Regions from separate parts of the Homo sapiens genome. Here region 1 is linked to region 2. Evidence: promoter capture Hi-C in human tissues and cell types (Jung and others, 2019). All regions are on one chromosome and are shown on one strand. The core of a region is centred on a gene start or on the middle of the fragment in contact, and the rest is flanking DNA. Distances in the headings are between cores, read along the strand shown.

Evidence for each region. Contacts are between HindIII fragments. The study calls those that stand out against the background at their distance.
Region 1: a fragment that was not itself captured here is called in contact with the fragment with the promoter of HECTD4 in region 2 in 1 of the 25 tissues and cell types used here (adrenal gland).

Annotation. Positions count from the first base shown.
Region 1 is chr12:112,328,590-112,334,406 of GRCh38, reverse strand. The region is part of intron 1 of HECTD4 (HECT domain E3 ubiquitin protein ligase 4); the gene reads left to right. Among named protein-coding and RNA genes, the nearest start is that of HECTD4, 51 kb to the left of the region's middle. The HindIII fragment of the contact is 6,026 bases long and covers 70-5,817 here.
Region 2 is chr12:112,379,017-112,384,746 of GRCh38, reverse strand. It overlaps HECTD4 (HECT domain E3 ubiquitin protein ligase 4), which reads left to right and starts at 2,316. Exons shown (of 76, transcript NM_001388303.1): 1 at 2,316-2,795. The coding sequence starts at 2,619. RefSeq lists silencers at 1,996-2,285, 2,396-2,665, 2,676-3,165 and enhancers at 2,173-2,672, 3,858-4,358. The HindIII fragment of the contact is 28,101 bases long and covers 1-5,730 here.

The DNA.
Region 1 (5,817 bases), core at 1,833-4,332, 51 kb after region 2:
ATTTGTATATCTTCTTTTGAGAATTGTCTATTCATGTCCTTAGGCCACTTTTTGATGGGATTGTTTTTTTTTTCTTGCTAATTTGTTTGAGTTCACTGTAGATTATGGATATTAGTCCTTTGTCAGATGTATAGATTGTGAAGATTTTCTCCCACTTTATTTATTTATTTATTTATTTATTTATTTATTTATTTATTTAAGAGGGAGTCTGGCTCTGTCGCCCAGGCTGGAGTGCAGTGGCATGATCTCGGCCCACTGCAACCTCCACCTCCAGGATTCAAGCGATTCTCCTGCCTCAGCCTCCCAAGTGGCTGGGACTACAGCACGCACCACCACACCCAGCTAATTTTTGTGTTTTTTAGTAGAGATGGGGTTTCACCATATTGGCCAGGCTGGTATTGAACTCTTGACCTCAGGTGATCCACCCACCTTGGGGTCCCAAACTGCTGGGATTACAGACATGAGCCACCGCACCTGGCCCCACTTACTTAAAGTGAAGTTTTCTCTCATCAGCCATTTGCTTACCTAGGTGTAGAATACATATGAGAAATCAGGATAAATGTTTGCATTTCTCCTTATATTAAGCAATTTTCAAAATAATGAATTGGTTTGCCAACATCCTCTAGTGATAATTTTCCTTTTTGTAAGAGTATGAACTTGTGGACTTAAACATTTGATGTTTTTCTATCCCTTGCATTATTGTGCTTTTTTTGTTTGTTTGTTTAATAGATACAGGGATTTTGCTCTGTTGCCCCGGTCTTGAACTCGTGGGCTCAAGCAGTCCTCCCTCCTTGGCCTCCCAAAGTGCTGGAATTACAGGCATGAGCCACCATGTCTGGCCTCTATTGTCCATACTAATCTGGCAATATCATTGTTTCTCAAAATGGATAATTTTTTTTCTAAAGAAGATATACAAATGGCCAATAAGCCCATTAAAAGATGTGATGCTCAACGTCATTACCCATTAGAGAAATGCAAGTTAAAACTACATGAACATACCACTTCACACCCACTAGGATGACTATAATCAGAAATACATAATAACAAGTGGCACCAAAGATGTGGAGAAATTAAAATCCTCATGTGTTGCTAGTGGGAATGTAAAATGGTGCAGCCATCTAGGAAAACAGTCTAGCATTTCCTCTAGATGGTAAACATAGAGTTAACATGTGACTCGGCTGTTCCATTTTTAGATATTTACACAAGGGGGATGGAAACATGTCTGTATAACCTGTGCATGAATGTTCATAGCAGCATTATTCGTAATAGCCGAAAATGAAAACAATTAAAATGTCCATCAACTGATGAATAGATAAATAAAATGTGGTCTAGCTATACAAAGGAATTTTATTCAGCAATAAAAGGAATGAAATATTGACACATGTTAAAATATGGATGACCCTTGAAAACAGTATACTGAGAGAAAGAGACCAATTACAAAAGACCTCACATAATATGATTCCATTTATATGAAATGTAAAGAATAGGCAAATCTATAAATATAGAAAATAGAATAGTGGTTGCCAAGGGCTGGGAGATTTGGGGAAAATGGAGAGTGACTGCTAATGGGTTCAGGATTTTTGTTTTTTTTTTTTGCAGTAGGGTGGGGGTGTGTGATGAAAATGTTCTGAAATGTGAATGTATTATACTAAAGGCCATTGAATTATATTTTAGGTGGATGAATTTTATGGTACGTGAATTATGTTACAACAAATCTTTAATAAAGATTATATTATTTTTTATAAAAGGAGTCCGTAAAGTCACCCAAGGAGCTTGCTTAAATGCAGATTCCAGGGCAATATCCTAGACCTCTGGAAAAATCTTTAGAAATGGATTCCAGGAATCTTTTTTTTTTTTTTTTTTTTTGAGACAGAGTCTTAATCTGTCACCCAGGCTGGAGTGCAGTGGCACAATCTTGGCTCACTGCAACCTCCACCTCCTGGGTTCAAGCGATCAATTATCCTGCCTCACCCTCCCCAGTAGCTGGGATTACAGGCTCATACCACCAGGACCGGCTAATTTTTGTATTTTTAGTAGAGATGGGGTTTCACCATGTTGGTTGGCCAGGCTGGTCTCAAACTCCCGACCTTAGGTGATCCACCTGCCTCAGCCCCTGAAAGTGCTGGGATTATAGGTGTGAGCCACCGCGCCCTGCCCCAGGAATCTTTATATAAAGTGAGCACATCCAGGGATTTTGATGCACACTGTTTGAGTGACATATTATCAAAGTTCTTTATTATGCTTTGTGCATACCAGTAACTTCCTATTTCTGCTTGTGGTATAATAGAGAATAGGTCTTCCTCTTCCACATGACAGCCCTTCAGTCTTAGGAAGACAGCTCCCCCTTCCCACCCGTCTCTTCTGTAGGCCACGCATCCCCAGTTCCTTAACCATTTTTCATGTGACATGATTTCCAGATTAGTCAAATCATCTTCTTCTGGACACACTCTAGTCTCTTAATGGCTTCTTAAAATGAGGTACTTGGAACTGAACAGGATATTCCAGTTATAGTTTGACCATTGCAGAATATAAATGGGATTATTACCTCCCTTGTCCCTGACACTGGAATTCTACTGATGCATTCTAAGATTGCATTAGCTTTTGAAAACAGTGTTGGCTCAAGTGAAGCTTGTGTTTAACTCAAACCTCGCTTATGCCACCCCTGACTCTCCCAGCTTTTATCTAGTCAGGTCTTTGTTGTATGACCATCAGGAAAAATTCCCTTTCTTGTTGGTGATCTGGTCTATACATGGAAAGAGTATCTTTAATGTCATAACAATTATTTAGCAATTTCAACTTTTTCAGAGCATTGACTGTACATGATCTCCTTAGATTTTAACAACTGTGTAAAATGAAGGGAGGTGCTACCCTCGTTTTATAGATGCGGAAATACAGACTGAGAGACCTGAAGTAAAATGCCTAAGGGGAGGGAGAGTTATTTGCAGAGGCTGGCATAGAACCTAGTTCCCCCAACTCAGTGGTTTGAAATCTTGGCTGCACATTGGATTCACCTGTGGGCTTTAAAAACTGATGCTGGACAAGGTGTGGTGGCTCATGCCTGTAATCCCAGCACTTTGGGAGGCCGAGGCAGGAGGATCACCTGAGGTCAGGAGTTCAAGACCATCCTGGCCAACATGGTGAAACCCTGTCTTTACTAAAAATGCAAAAAATAGCTGGGCGTGGTGGCACGTGCCTGTAGTCCCAGCTACTAGGGAGATTGAGGCATGAGAATCACTTGAATCCGGGAGGCGGCAGTTGCATGAGTCGAGATCATGCCAGTGCACTCCAGCCTGGGTGATACAGCGAGACTCCATCTCAAAAAAAACAAAACAAACCAAAACACACCAGAACAAAAAAACCGATGCCTAGGCCCCATCCTCACATATTCTGAGGTAACCAGACCGGGGCGGGACCAACTCACTACTCTTGTTTAAAAGCTGTCAAAACAATTCTAATATTCAGGATTGAGAACAGCTGCCCTAAATCATATTCTGATGTCCCCTCCCCCTCACCACATGTATTTTCTTCATCTAATTAAAAGGTTCTTATGTGGAAGAGAGAGGATTATTTTCCATCATTCCAGAAGGCAAAAGTAAAATTAGTCCAAGTGGGAGAGGATTACTCAGATGTACAGTGGAAACCAGGTGTAAGCCCTAAGAGGATTATTCTTGGAATTTATTTATCTTCTCATTCATTAATTTATCAAACATTTATGTGCCAGACACTGTGCTCAGCTCTGGGGACACAAACATGAGTATGACATGGTCTCCCCCTTTTGGGGCTCACAGTTGAAAGGGAAGACAAACTGTAAATAAATAACATCATAGTGGAGTGTGGTAACTGTTACACGTATCAGAGCTGTTCAGTTTCCTTTTTAAATTTGTTATAGTTTTGTATTAAAAATTGTCAATAGTGATTTTCTTACCATAATATATTTATGCCAAGCATTTGGTGAATATGTTGCACTATATTAGTCTTTAAGTATGTAATTCAAGCAACAGATAAAGTTAGTCTGCAGAAATTTTGTGGAAATATCTTCTTTCTCTAAATACTCCTAATAATAAAATGTACAATAGTATTCAAACCATTTTGAAGAGTTTAGTCCTATGTCTTCCTTTTTTTTTTTTTTTGAGACAAAGTATCACTCTGTTGCCCAGGCTGGAGTGCAGTGGTGCGATCTCAGCTCACTGCAACCTCCGCCTCCCAGGTTCAAGGGATTCTCCTGCCTCAGCGTCCCAAGTAGCTGGGATTACAGGCGCCCATCACCACGCCCGGCTAATTTTTGTATTTTTAATAGAGATGGGGTTTCACTGTGTTTGTCAGGCTGGTCTCGATCTCCTGACCTCAGGTGATCTGCCCACCTTGGCCTCCCAAAGTGCTGGTATTATAGGCGTGAGCCACTGCGCCCGGCTAGTCCTCCAAATTTTTGATTTTTAAAAAATATTTTTATTAAAAAAAGTAGAGATGGGGTCTCACTATGTTGCCCAGATTTGTCTCAAACTCCTGGGCTCAAGCAATCGATCCTACCTCTTAGGCCTTCCCAAGTATTGAGATTACAGACGTGAGCCACTGTACCCAACCTCCAAATTCTATTCTGTTAATTACTAAGCATAGGTATATGATCTGTATTTATTTTGTCAAGATTTGATGTTGATGAAAAAATGATTTTGTAACATGGAGAAAATTTTAGATATGGATTTGATGCCTCTGAGATACCATTTATTAAAAACAAATCAATAGGCCAAGTGTGGTGGCTCATGCCTGTAATTCCAGCACTTTGGGACGCCGAGGTGGGCGGATCTCTTCAGGCCAGGAATTCGAGACCAGCCTGGCCATCATGGCGAAACCCTGTCTCTACCAAAAATACAGAAATTAACCCAATGTTGTGGTGGACATCTGTAATCCCAGCTACTCGGGAGGCTGAGGCACGAGAATCATTTGAACCCAGGAGACGGAGGTTGCAATAAGCTGAGATTGCACCACTGCACTCCAGCCTGGGCAACAGAGCGAGACTCTGTTAAAAAAAAAAAAAAAAACAAAAAACCCAAAACAAATCAATACATTCTTATTAAAACAGCTAAAACACTTTTCCTTATAGTTTGTAGCTGACTTTCTGATAAGAAGTATGTATACAGTACTGTGAAAACTCAGAGAAACTGTTTTGGAAAGGGGAAGAGAAAGAGAGGAAATCAGAGTTTCTCAAAGTAGGTCTTGATGGAGCAGGGCTGAATTTTGAAAGGTAGGATTTACACTGAGTCGGGTAGGCATTCAGGCAACAAGAGCAGGGAGATGGAAAAATAGAACCCTGGTCAAAGGGACAGCACAAAAGATGAAAACTGGGCAGGGGCCACAACAAGATGGAACTTTCATGGTAAAAGAATTTGAACAGTAATTTCTTATGTATTGGAGTCCTCACAATTCTGACAATCCTGCTGTCACCAGCAGTTATATGAAGATCTGGGAAAGTCACCATATGCTGGAGAAAGTTTTGCAGGGCTTAGCCAAAACTAAAAAATCTAGCAAGAAGTCAGAGTCCATTCCAGTTTTGGCATCCAGTTAGAGGCTAAAACTCATGAATTAAAGTGTGGAAATTTAATATCCTCGTTCTCAGTTAGGTTTAAGACCCTTTTTACAAATAAGAGATGTTGAAAAGTGAGTTTGAATAAACACATATTTCCAAGTTGGATAAGGTCGTGCAGCTTCAGGGTCTAATTTAATTGATAAGTGATCCACCCTGGATTTGGGCTTTAGTAAGAGAGAATTCCACCCTCCCATCATGATGTACTTACTTGGCTCGCATGAGAGCTTTTCAAGTCT
Region 2 (5,730 bases), core at 1,067-3,566:
ACTTGAAACCAGGAGGCAGAGGTTGCAGTGAGTCAAGAGGTTGCAGTGAGCCGAGATCATGCCATTGCACTCCAGCCTGGGCAACAGAGCAAGACTCCGTCTCAAAAAAAAAAAAAAAAGGAATGAAGGAGTTTTCTTACAGTCAAAATAAGGAAGCTGAAGTTGTAAAATCGGACAGACCTGGGTTTACATCTGAGCTTTGATGTTTACTGGCTTTGTGACATTGAGCAAAGTATCTAACTGAGTCTTGACTTCCCAGCTGAAAGTAGGAATAATAATACTCCCCCTCTCAGACATTTGGGAGGATTTGATGAAATGGCCATTCCATTACACTTGCCTGTTTTATTGTTTCCATGGTTCTGATCAACTCTGAACTGCTGGATTTATTGTTCTCTTCTTCCTCCTCTTCCTCTTCTTTTCTTCTTTTTTGAGACAGGGTCTTACTCTGTTGCCCAGGCTGGAGTGCAGTGGCATAATCTTAGCTGAATCACTGCAACTTCTGCCTTCTGGGCTCAAACGATCTTCCTGCTTCAGCCTCCTGAGTAGCTGGGACTATGGGTGTGCACCACCACGCCTGGCTAATTTTTGTATTTTTTGTAGTGACGGGGTTTTGTCATGTTGCCCAAGGGGGTCTCGAGCTTCTGGGCTCAAGAGATCTGCCAGCCTTGGCCTCCCAAAGTGTTGGGATTACCCACGTGAGCCACTGTGCCCGGCCATAATATTCCATCTTATGGATATATCATATTTTAGTTAACCAGCCCCATATTGTTGGACATCTAGATTGATAAGTTTTTCCTTTTGTAAACAATATTGAGCTACACAACCCTGTATATCCATCCTTGACTACGAGTCTGATTATTTCCTTCAGACAACTTCCTCAAAGTTGAATTGCTGGATCAAAGGGTATGCACCTTAATGTTCTCCTGTTATTGTTATTGTTATTATTATTATTATTATTATTATTGAGATGGAGTCTTGCTCTGTTGCCCAGGCTGGAGTGCAGTGGCATGATCTCGGCTCACTGCAACCTCCGCCTCCTGGGTTCCAGCTATTCTCCTGCCTCAGCCTCCTGAGTATCTGGGACTACAGGCATGTGCAACCATTCCTGGCTAATTTGTGTATTTTTTTTAGCAGAGACAGGGTTTCATCATGTTGACCAGGCTGGTCTCGAACTCCTGACCTCAGGTGATCTGCCCACCTTGGCCTCCCAAAGTGCTGGGATTACAGGTGTAAGCCACTGTGCCCGGCCTGTTTTATTATTTTTTAAGTGATAAAAATATACAAGTAATAGAGAACAATCTCATCTCAGTAGTTCCAGACCAGCCCCACACTCCCATGGCAACTCACCTTAAACATCTGGTGTGTATTTGTTCATGCATTGTTCTTTATACATATAGTTTTCCTTTCTTGTTTTTATAAAATGGCACTGGTGGGCATATATATATTTTTGGTGGGGAGGGAGGGATGGGGTCTCCCTCTGTCGCCCGGGCTGGAGTGCAGTGGCAAGATAATAGCTCACTGCAGCCTCCACCTCCTGAGTTCAAGAGATCCTCTTGCCTCAGCCTCCCGAGTAGCAGGACTACAGACGCTTGCCACCCTGCCCCGCTAATTTTTATTTTTTGTAGAGATGGGGTCTCCCTATGTTGCCCAGGCTGGCCTCAAACTTCTGGGCTCAAGCAGTCCTTCTGCCTTGACCTCCGTGCTGGGATTACAGGTGTGAGCCACCGCACCCGGCCTAGTGAGCATATTTTTAAGGTGTATGTCAATTAGTGTGGAACACTGATGGAACGAACATAGCAATAATTAGAATTGCCACTCATGGAGCACATATTAAGTGTCGGGCATTGAGCACCAAGCATTGTGGACAGACGCTTTATTTTCACCAGGTTTTGAGTGCTTACTGGGTACTAGACTTTTCAGTCAATATTAATCATCTACTATGTGATTCTACCAAGTGCTTATGAACAAGTGTGCAGCGCCTATTCTGCGCCAGCCTTTTGCTTGCATCTCATTTAAACGTGAAAACAAGGAGTGATCTCTATGCTCTGCCCAGGGTGGGGGCGCGGGCCCGAGCAAGGGGTGCACACCTGAGTAGGGACAGGACGGGGGAAGCGGCGTCCTCTTCCCTGGCGCGCTGCAAAGCCAGGGCTACCCTGAATGGCCAGGGGGAGAAGGGGCCGGCGGAGGTCAGGCCGAGGGCAGGCGGCAGCGAAGGGCTAGGCGGACGTCCAGGCCACCCGGGTGGCCTCGTCCGCGGAGCGGTGGGCGGAGCGGCGGGCGGGGCCTGTATTGTCCGCTCCGCGAGGCATGCCGGGAGCCCCGCCCCCAACATGGCGTCTCACTGACAGTTGGTTGCCGAGCGGCAGAGGCGGATCCTGCTCCTGAGGGCGGCGGCGGCGGCGGCGGCGGCGGCGGCGGCAGGGCCGGGGTCTCCCGGGCCGGGGTCGGGGGTATGGCGACTCGGACCGCCTAGGGCGGAGTTGCACGGGCGAGGCAGCAAGTGGGGCGCCGCTGGCGGGCGCGGCGGCCGCTGCCATGGACTGGTGATCGCGGCGGCTCCTGCTCCGTTTCCCCCGGCCGGGCGTCTGCTCCTCAGCGCCAAGCCTTCAGCCGGGGCCATGGGCTCGTCGGCGGCCGCGGCGGCGGCGGCGGCGGCGGCCGCTGACTCGGCGCAGTGGCTCTCGGTGAAGGAAGAGACCATCTTCCTGCACGACGGGCTGATCCGGGTCACCGACCTGGCCGAGCTGCCCAGCGAGATCCTCGGGGCCCCAGAGGCCGCGGACACCGACCTGGAGGTGAGCGAGGCGGCCCCCGGCCCCCGCCATCGGACTGACCCACTCGCCCGGCACCCCCGGGTCGGGCCCCCTCCTCGCCTCAGCCGCGGCCTCGCCTCCCGGCGGCTGCCGGGGCAGGTGTGTGTGGGCGCGGGGCGGGCAGGTGGGGCCGCGGCCGCAGGTCTGCGGACCGCCCGCCCCGCTCTCCCTCCCTCCCTCCTCGGGGCCTGGCGCCCGCAGGGGATTTCATTTGTGGTTTTCTTTTGAGCGTTCCGACACCCGGCATTTTATTAGGCTAGCGCCTGGCTCGGCCTTCATGCCCCAGAGGAGCCACCGCCACCACCCGGGCCCTCCCTCCCCTCCCCCACGGGCCCCCAGGACCCACTTCCAGGGCACACCCAGGTTGCTTAGCTTTGGGAACATTTTGATTTTCACGCTGTGTACCCTCCCATCCTTTTCTTCCCTAGTTCTGTTTTTTTTGTTTGGTTTGGTTTGGTTTTTTTCCGGGAGAGGGTAGTGGCAGCTGCGGGTCCGCGATGGGCAATCCAGCAACTTCTCTGTGTTGTGTCTCGGATGGATTGACACGGGGCCTTTGTCAGGGAAGCGGGCGCTGTGGACAGCGAGAGGGATGCTCCAGCGGCCCTCCATGCACTCTCGGGGAAGGGTCACTGGCGCGTTAGGCCGCAGGGCCTTTTTGTGTGCCCCGGGGGTCGCCAAGCATCCCGGGTTCAGAGCCGTGGCAGGTGCAACAGCAGATCTCATCAGTTGAGCTGCTTGGCCTTGGGGGCAGAAGGGAACCAAATATGCCTGGTTGGTGGGAACTTTCCATCGACTTCACTTGGGTTCGTGTTTGCCTAGAGGTGGGAATACTGGCAGTGTCGTTTCATGGAGGCCAACGGATGCTGACACTGCTCCCCTTCCACTTTGTGGGATGACATTTTGATGTGTAGGTAGCATGGGGTGTCATCAAATTTTTACTGCCGTAAGGAGAGCTTTCTGGGGTAGGGCGCAGAGAGGATGGCCTATCTTCTGGCTATAAACGGCATGCGAGGGATCTTTTGTGTTTTGCGGTTTTGCGTGCAGTTTGGCTTTACGCACAACGAACATTTATAGAAATGAATTAAAAGCCATTACTGTGTGTTTCTGGAAACGGCAGTGATCGGATCACATTGGCCGAGACATTTGGACGTGCTTGAGATGCGAATACGTTCCACTGTATTTTTGTGTCTGGATTTGCGGTTGCTTCAGCACTTCCGTTATGAACTCTTAATTGACTTATTTTACAATCTAGTCACCAAAAAGAGGAGGATATGGTTGGTAGGGAATTCCTAACATGGAATCATCGTTTTATTGTGTCTCATTTGGGCCTGTTCTATAACAAGCAAGGTGTGTCTGAGTGTCTTATCTGCCTGAAAACTCAAGGGGTATTATGCTATGATAGTGGAATCTTTTGATTTAATTGGCTGTGTTGTGTGTGAAAGGTGGAAAGTGGATGCTCTTTGTTTCTTTCTTTTCTTTTTTTTCCCCCGAGACCGAGTCTTGCTCTGTCGCCCAGGCTGGAGTGCAGTGGCGCGATCTCAGCCCACTGCAGCCTCTGCCTCCCGGATTCAAACGATTCTCCTGCCTCTGCCTCCCGAGTTGCTGGGATTACAGGCACGCGCCACCATGCCTGGCTAATTTTTGTATTTTTAGTAGAGACAGGGTTTCACCATGTTGGCCAGGCTGGTCTCGAACTCCTGACCTCAAGTGATCTGCCTGCCTTGGCTTCCCAAAGTGCTGAGATTACAGGCGTGAGCCACTATGCCGTGCCTATGCTCTTTGTTTCTTAAAGACTAATCCAAGTTCACAGAACCAAAATTTATACATATATGTCATTTATGTAGTTTATTTTTAGGATTAGAAAGAGTAGGATTAGTTAAAATATCTGTGATGTTGGTTTTCCTAAAATGTTTATAAATGTATTGCGTGAATTTGTCAGCTATTTCCACAGAAGAATGGTTTTCAAAGGAAAGAACCTCTCTGGCCTGCTAGATTTTTTTTTTTAATTGCTTTTTAAATTTATGGTCTGATTTCTCAGCAACTAGTATGTGTATGGGTGATAAACATTTATGACTGGTAGTAGTGAATAACTTGTTTCATTCTTTCCATGTTATACAGGCTCCATGGTATCAGGAGAAATAGATAGCTAAGAATGTTTTTGTGGCTATTAGATTTGTGTTTGTGTGGGTGTATTCACATATATATATATATATATAAAAAATCTTTTTATTTTTTATTTTGAGACAGGGTCTCTCTCTGTTGCCCAGGCTAGAGTGCAGTGGCTCCATCTCAGCTCACTGCAACCTCCACCTCCCGGGTTGAGGCAATTTTCCTGCCTCAGCCTCCCAAGTAGCTGGGATTACAGGCATACACCACCATGCCGGGCTAATTTTTGTATTTTTAGTAGAGACAAGGTTTTGCCATGTTGGCCAGGCAAGTCTCGAACTCCTGACCTCAGGTGATCCGCCTGCCTTGGCCTCCCAAAGTGCTGGGATTACAGGCATGAGCCACCATGCCCAGCACATATTTAATTACTTAATAATATTGATTAAATGTATCCTACATGTCAGGCATTATTTTATTAAATTCTCAAAAGAGCCTAACAATTGGAAATATTGCACTCATTGTACAGATGAAGGAAGTGCAGAGTAGGTATTCGACTTGTTCAAGAGCACATGAAGAGCTTGCACGTTAACCTAGTTCTGTTCACTGCACATCTGCTCCTCATCATAATATTTTATTGCCTCCATGCATGTATAGTATTTTTATTTGCAATTATTTTAAATTTCATAACTGGCTACAGAAGGAAGAATCTCTATTTTCTTTTAGTAACTGTTTCTTTTTCATATTTGAGGAAGATTCGTGGTCTATTAATTTTTGGTTTTTTTTTTTGAGACGGAGTCTTGCTCTGTCGCCC